Linked DNA regions of Homo sapiens: region 2 is linked to region 1. Evidence: promoter capture Hi-C in 16 types of primary human blood cells and fetal thymus (Javierre and others, 2016). All regions are on one chromosome and are shown on one strand. The core of a region is centred on a gene start or on the middle of the fragment in contact, and the rest is flanking DNA. Distances in the headings are between cores, read along the strand shown. Region 1 holds the start of CLGN (calmegin). Region 2 overlaps RNF150 (ring finger protein 150).

Region 1 (3,847 bases), core at 667-3,166:
GATTCTCCTGTCTCAGCCTCCCGAGTAGCTGGGATTATAGGCGCGCGCCACTATGCCCGGCTAATTTTTGTATTTTTAGTAGAGACGGGGTTTCACCATATTGGTCAGGCTGGTCTCCAACTCCTAACCTCAGGTGATCCGCCCGCCTCGGCCTCCCAAAGTGCTGGGATTACAAGCGTGAGCCACCGCGCCGGGCCTTCTTTCACTCTCAACACACCTATTTAACACACTTTTTGTACATGCTATTTCTTATAACTGCGATGCCTTTCTGCTGTTATTCAGTTTTAATGGCTGACTGAGGATCCGACCAACACTGGTATATTCCAGAAGTGGTGTTTGACAATCACCTATTACTTAAAGTTTTAGTTGTCATGTGGCTTCAGGAATGCAATGTAGAATGATATAATAAAAAGTACACCCAACATGGCACAATCGCACCAAGTTTCTAGTTTTATTATTAAAAAGACAAGTGATAAAAACTGCTGTGGGCCTGTTTTCTCATTTGTGACGTGAACTAGACAATCCAAAGATTCTTTAAAGTTCATAATTCTAGTTTTCTATTTAAAAACACCAGTATTTATTAGGTACTTAAAAAGTACTACAGCTAACTTACAACACTTCAATTTCTAGACAAATGCATCAACATACTTACATCATTTACACACAATAATTAACCTTATCAACTAGCTAAGACAGAGAGTACAGAATATCTTGTTCTGAGGATTTGGAGATGAGATCTAAATGTTACTGGAAGATCAAACCAATAAGACGTGAAGGCAAAACTCCAAACTGAAAACAGGTCAAACTTACAATGACCCAAAGGAGGGCTACCTCGAGTGATGTCGACATTTGTAAAACAAGCAAAATCATCAGATGAGATCGGGATTTTGCCTGCTTTTAAGCAACAAAAAGTTTATACGTTAATGAACTCTTTTCTAATTTGAGACTTCTTCCTGTGGCCACGTTATTTACCTTTTCTCTCCCAGTCCTGAGCTTTGGTTGCCATTTGCTTTTAACTCCCAAGCAAACACCTCCTCTTTGTTGCTTGGGCAGATGCTATAAATAAAATCAGCGAAAGTGTCTGATTGATGGTAAACAGGCCTGGGGCGATAATGAGTCTAGTAATTAGGGCCTCTCTGGATTCAACCCAGCCCTTTCGCCCGCCCCCCGGCGGCGCACAATGGGCTCTGCGCGGGTATCGAGGGAGCGGCCAACAGTCCCTGGCCCCACCGCCGTGAAGTGGGGTCCCTTCGCTTCCACATAGGTGGAGACTGAGACAGCCGAGCCTATTTTGATCTCGTTTGGGTTTCTGTAAGGAGCAGTCAGCAGAGTGAGCAGCGCCCAGACGCGCCCCGGGCCCCCTCTACAACCATTGGGAGAGCGCCCCGGGCTCAAGCGTGGAACGGGGCTGCAATGGCAACCGCTGGAATAACGGCCTCGGCTCCCGGTGGCTCCTCAAGCCCGCAGGGGAGGCCGGCCGGGCTAGGCACCTAGCTGTCCCCGTGCTCGTCCGCCCCAGCCCGGGCGCAGCAGGTGGATGCGGCGGTGCTGAAGACACAAAGGGTCCCAGGTGGCACCACCTCCTGCGTCCACCCACGGGGCCGCCAGAGCCCAGTCAAGACCCTAGCTCGCTGCAGCCCCATCGCCAGACTCAACATCCACCCTCACTTGGCCCCGACCGGTTCAGCCCTCTGGCGGCAAAGTAACGGGGTGCCTGGGGGAAGCAGCAACGACTCCGCTTCCTCACCCCAATCTGCGCGCAAAGGGCAGCGGGACAGCGGGAACGCGGCCTGCTGCTCACGCACCTCTCTTGCGGCCTGTTTTCGGCAGTGACAGCTCAGATGTCCAAGTCGTTGCCACTTGGTCCCCGCGTCTCTTCAGACCAGTCCCGCCGGCGGCCGCGCAGCAGCGACTACTAACCGCGCGTGCGCGTGCGGTGGCGGGCGGGAGGCGGTGGCGGCCCGAGGTGTGTGCTACGCGCTCCTGCTCCGAGGGGCTCAACCGCCTCCAGGGGGAGCCGCACATGGAGCCTGTGCCGCCGCCGGCCGGTTGTGGCCTGGACCCCGCTCCCGGGTTAGCCCAGGAGGAATTCCCCCTGCAAGTCCGAAGACTTTTCCTCCTCTGAGCTCCCGCCCTCTCTGCAGACCGTGCTACCTCCTGTTGCGCAATGATTGGGTCCTGAATTTTATGTAAATCATATTTATGAACAACGTCCAGTAATAAGTGCAGCAAGATTAGGGCTCTAGGTTTTCTCCAGAGTTCTAGATGTTAACAGATCTGCAGTCATGGTGATTAATAAGGAGCTTTCCTGTCTGGTGTGTGTATATGACAAATACAGATGCGTTAAGTGTTAATAAATACATTGTATATAAAACAATATGTTCTTTTTCTCTCGAACAACACTATTAATAAGAGCTGCTAACATTTATTGTGTTCATTGTGCTCTAAGGGGCTTACATTCATTGTTTAACCTTCGTGGCAACCCAGGTGATGAAACTGATGGCAACTTGCTCGAAGTTACACAACATGTAAACAGTGGAAACGGGATGTAAATCAGGCCTGTCTCTCTCAGAGCCTGTAGTTTCAAACACATTGAAATAAATCTTAGCATAAACGTAGTTTATGCTATGATTATGCAATCACAAGCTGCTTTGCCTTTTATATATTGGATCAATATTAATTTTACTACTTAATATTTTATAGTAAATCTTGACTTTGAATTTGGTATAACAATTTAATTTTATTGGAAGATTAATTAACAACATTTAATTGACTTGTGAGTCTAAGACCCTTGTTGAAGAGTTTCAATCTTAAGGGTTTGGTGGCATTCCGTGCACAACGTATCATTATTGGCTAGGGGTCAAGATCACTGAGTTTTTTCACATTGCTTCACTAATTAAGACCAGCATTTCTAAACTTTTGACTTTGTCATCTCTGGGAGAGTGTTTGGATAGTGTTAAAATTTACTGGTTAAAAAGACATTTTGTTTGAGATACTTTGTAACAATATTATACCCTTTATTTCTTTCTTCCGTCCTTCTGACTTCTATTATTCAACATACTTCTGTGGCCCATAACAAATACACTTGAACTGCTAGAGAGGGATTTTTTAAAGGATCCATTCAAAGTTTGCAGTGAGGAAGCTGAAAACTAAAAATGTAAGAATAGTGAATTTTTGCAAGATTTAGTAGTATCTTCTTGGTCACATAGTACTCAAAACCTTGAGAACATTTTTTTACTCTTTGGCTGCTACATTCACTGCCTCCATAAATTAAACTCTAACTCCATAAAATCATCTAAAAGAGGTCCTCACCCCCTCCAGTCCCTGTGCCATTTCTCTAGTTTAGATTCTCACTACTTTAGAAACTGTTGTTCAGAGTTACCTAACTAGTTGCCCCCCTTCAGAGCCTCCCACCTACACTTCGTAGTTTAATCCTCAGCTCATTCAATAGTTTCCAATGACCCTTCATTACCCACAGCATGAAATCTAATCTCTAACCTTGAAATTTAAGGCCTTAACATATCTCCAAAATTATTTGCCACTTATTGAAAGGATGATTGAATATAATATTTATAATTTGTTTAATAGGCAACTTTTCATCAGAATAATACAATGTGATAATGTCAGAGGAGAAAGAATAATCTGCAAATAAGACAAGGGGTATGGCTTTTGAGAGTGATGTAGTGTTTAATAATACAAGCGGAGGAGTCCCAGAATGTAATGCTGAATGGTAGAGTCGTGAAGTGTTCTGACACATCAAAGTTGAAGAGAGATTTGGGAAGAGACCAAGGCAATGTAATCAAGATTGGAGGGACTAGAGTAATCAGAAATCTAGAAAAACATAAAA
Region 2 (3,847 bases), core at 478-2,977, 450 kb after region 1:
GTAAATAAAATGTTAAGGAAACAAAGGTGTGGGGAAAATATCACCTCTAAGTGGGTAACCAAGAGGATTCATGAAGTAGGTTACATGTAGGCTGGCAGTGAGGATCTAATTAGTATTGGGAAGTATGGAGGTAAGGGGAAATGGAATTCCTTCCAGAAGGGCCAGCATGACTATAGCAATCATCAAAGCAAATTTCAAGGCATGTGGATGGTTTGACTTGCCTGTGGCTTAGTGTATGAAGGATGTGGAATGGTTCAGACAGGTCACTGTGGCTCCTGAAGTGTTGGCTGTGGTTTCAATGAGATCAGAGGGAGAAAGATTCTCTATATCCCCATCAACACTTACTATTTTGTGTTTATTTTTAAATTTTATTTATTTATTTTTAATATTAGTCATCCTAACAGGTTAAGGTGATATCTCATTGTGTTTTTTTTTTTTTTTTTTTTTCAACAGAATCTTGTTTTATCACCCAGGCTGGAGTGCAGTGGCACAATCTTGGCTTACCTCACTCAACCTTTGCCTCCCAGGCTCAAGCAATTCTTGTGCCTCAGCCTCCTGAGTAGCTGGGATTACAGGTATGCACCACCATGCCCAGCTAATTTTTGTACTTGTAGTAGAGATGGGGTTTTACCATATCAGCCAGGCTGATCTCAACCTCCTGGTCTCAAGTTGATTCACCTGCCCTTGGCCTCCCAAAGTGCTGGGATTACAGGCGTAAACCACTGTGCCTGGCCTCATTGTGGTTTTGATTCACATTTCCCTGATGATCGGTGATGTTAAGTATCTTTTTTATGCTTGTTGGCCATTTGTACTTCTTCTTAGGAAAATTATCTATTCAAGTCCTTTGCCTATTTTTCAATAGGGTTATTTATTCTGTAATTTGAGTTGTAGGAGTTCTTTGTGTATCCTGGATATTAACACCTTATCAAATATATGGTTTGCAAATATTTTCTCTCATTCTGTAGCTTGTCTTTTCACTCTGTTGACTGTTTACTGTGCAGAAGATTTTAGTGTAATGTAGTCCAATTTGTCTATTTTTGTTTTTGTTGCCTGTGCATTTGGTGTCATTTCCAAGAAATCCTTACCAAATACAATGCCATGAAGCTTTCCCCCTCCTGTTTTCCTCTAGGAGTTTTACAGTTTCAGGTCTTAGATTTAGGTATTTAATTCAGTTTGAGTGATTTTTTTGTATGCTTACGCTCTAAGATAAGGGTCCAATTACTTTCTTTTGCAATGTGGACCTCCACTTTTCTCCACACCATTTTTTGACACTATCCTTCCACCACTATGTAGTCTTGGCTCACTGTTGAGGATTATTTGACCATATACATGAGGATCTCTATTCTGTTTTATTGGTCTACATGTCTGTCTTTATGCCAGTACCATATTGTTTTGATTACCATCACTCTGTAATATGTTTTGAAATTAGGAAGTGTGAGGCCTTCAATTTTGTTCTTCTTTCTCATGATTGTTTTGGCTATTTGGAGTAAATATGAGTTTTAGGACTGTTTTTCTGTTTCCACACAAAAAAAATGCCATTGGGATTTTGATAAAGATTCCATTGAATTTACAGATTGCTTTGGGTAGTATGGACATTTTAACAACATTGTCTTCCAATCCGTGAACATGTGATATCTTTCCATTTATTTATGTCTTAACTTTTTTAAGCAATGTTTTAAGTTTTCAGTGTACAAGTCTTTCACCTTGTTCATTAAGTTTATTCCTAAGTATTTTACTTTTTTGATGCTATCATAAATGGAACTGTTTTCTTAATTTCCTTTCATATTGTTACTGTTCAGAAATTCAACTAATCTTTTATGTTAATTTTGTACCCTGCACTTTGGGAGGCTGAGGCAGAAGGATCACTTGAGTCCAGGAGTTCAAGACCAGCCTGGGCAACATAGCAAGATCATGTCTCTACAGATGAAAAAAAACTAGCCTGGCATGGTGGCACATGTCTGTGGACCCAGCTATTTGGGAGGCTAAGCTGGCAGGATTACTTGAGCCCAGGTTGAGGCTCCAGTGAGCTGTGATTGTGCCATTGTACTCCATCCTGTGTGGCAGAGCAAAATCCTGTCTCAAAAAGAAAAAAAAAATTTGCACCTAGAAACTTTGACTTTGCTGAATAGTTTATTAGTTTTAAGAGCATTTGAAATGTGGAATCTTTAAAGTTTTCTACATATAAGATCATGTCATTTTGTGAACAGAGATAATTTTATTTCCTCCTTTCCAAATTGGATGCTTTTTATATATTTTTTTCTTTCCTAATTGCTCTGACTAGGACTTCCAGTACTGTGTTTAATAGAAGTGGTAAGAGTGAGCATTCTTGTCTTGTTCCTGATCTTGGAAGAAAGCTTTCAGTTTTTCACCATCTAGAATGATGTTAGCTATAGACTTTTCATACTTGACCTTTCTTATGTTGAGGGAATTCTTTTATTCCTAGTTTGTTGAATATTTTTATTATAAAAGCATGTTGAATTTTTTCAAATGCATTTTCTGCATCAGTTGAGATAATCATGTGATTTTCATTCTTTGTTCTGTTAATGTGGTGTATTACACTGACTGATTTTTTTTTGTATACTGAATCATCCTTGCATTCCAGGGATAAATCCCACTTGGTCATGGTATATAATCTTTTAATGTACTGTTTAAATTGATTTCCTCATATTTTGTCAAAGATTTTTGCATCAATATTTATTGGTTATATTGGTCTGTAATTTTCTTTTCTTGTAGTATCTTTGTCTGGATTTGGTATTATGGTAATACAGGCCTCATAAAATAGTTTAGAAGTGTCCCCTCCTCTCCAGTCTTTTTTTTTTTTGGAAGAGTTTGAGAAGAACTGTCATAAATTCTTTTTTAAATGTTTGGGATAATTCTCCAGTAAAGCCATCTGGTCCTGGGTTTTTTTTTGTTTGTTTGTTTGTTTGTTTGTTTTAAACAAAAGGTCTTTTTATTACTGGTTCAATCACCTTACTAGTGATAGGTTGGTTGAAATTTCCTATTTCTTCATGATTCAGTCATAACAGATTGCATTTGTCTAGGAATTTCTACATTTATACATTTCTTCTAGGTTATTCACAGTAGTCTCATAATATTTTTTATTTCTTTGGCATTAGTTGTAATGTCTCCTCTTTAATGTCTAACTATTTATTCAAGTCTTCTCTTTATTTTAATTAGTCTAGCTAAGGATCTGTCAATTTGGTTGATCCTTTCAAAACACAAATTCTAAGTTTGGTTGCTTTATTCCATTGTCTTTCTATTCTCTATTTCATTTATATCTGCTCTAATCTTTATTATTCCCTTGAAATTCTGCTAATTTTGAATTTGGTTTGTTTTCTTTTCTCTAGTTCCTTGAGGTATAAAGTTTGGTTCTTTGAGATCTTTCTTTTTTAATGTAGTCATTTATTGATATAAACTTTCCTTTGTACTTTTTTTTTTTTTTAAGACAAGGTCTAGCTGTATGGCACAGGCTGGAATGCAGTGGCATGATCTTGGCTCACTGCAGCCTCCACCTCCTGGGCTCAAGCCATCCTCACACTTCAGCCTCTCAAGTAGCTGGGACTAGAGGCATACATTATCACATCTGGATAATTTTTGTATTTTTTTGTAGAAATGAGGTTTCACCATTTTGCCCAGGCTGGTCTCAAACTTGTGAGCTCAAGGGATCCATCTGCCTCAGCCTCCCAATCTGCTGGGATTACAAGCATGAGCCACCACACCTGGCCCCTTTGTACTTCTTTTGTTGCCTCCCATAAGTCTTGGTACATTACCTTTTTGTTTTCATTTGTCTCAAGACGTTTTCCAGTTTATCTTGTGATTTCTTCTTTGACCCACTGGTTATACAAGA

Evidence for each region. Contacts are between HindIII fragments. The CHiCAGO score rates a contact against its expected background, and 5 or more counts as called.
Region 2: a contact is called between a fragment that was not itself captured here and the fragment with the promoter of CLGN in region 1, in 2 of 17 cell types (monocytes and endothelial precursors). The highest score is 6.0, in monocytes.

The regions. Positions count from the first base shown.
Region 1 is chr4:140,425,732-140,429,578 of GRCh38, forward strand. It overlaps CLGN (calmegin), which reads right to left and starts at 1,917. Exons shown (of 15, transcript NM_004362.3): 1 at 1,806-1,917. RefSeq lists an enhancer at 1,074-1,123. The HindIII fragment of the contact is 13,619 bases long and covers 1-3,847 here.
Region 2 is chr4:140,877,739-140,881,585 of GRCh38, forward strand. All of the region lies in intron 6 of RNF150 (ring finger protein 150), which reads right to left. Among named protein-coding and RNA genes, the nearest start is that of TBC1D9, 120 kb to the left of the region's middle. The HindIII fragment of the contact is 1,250 bases long and covers 1,103-2,352 here.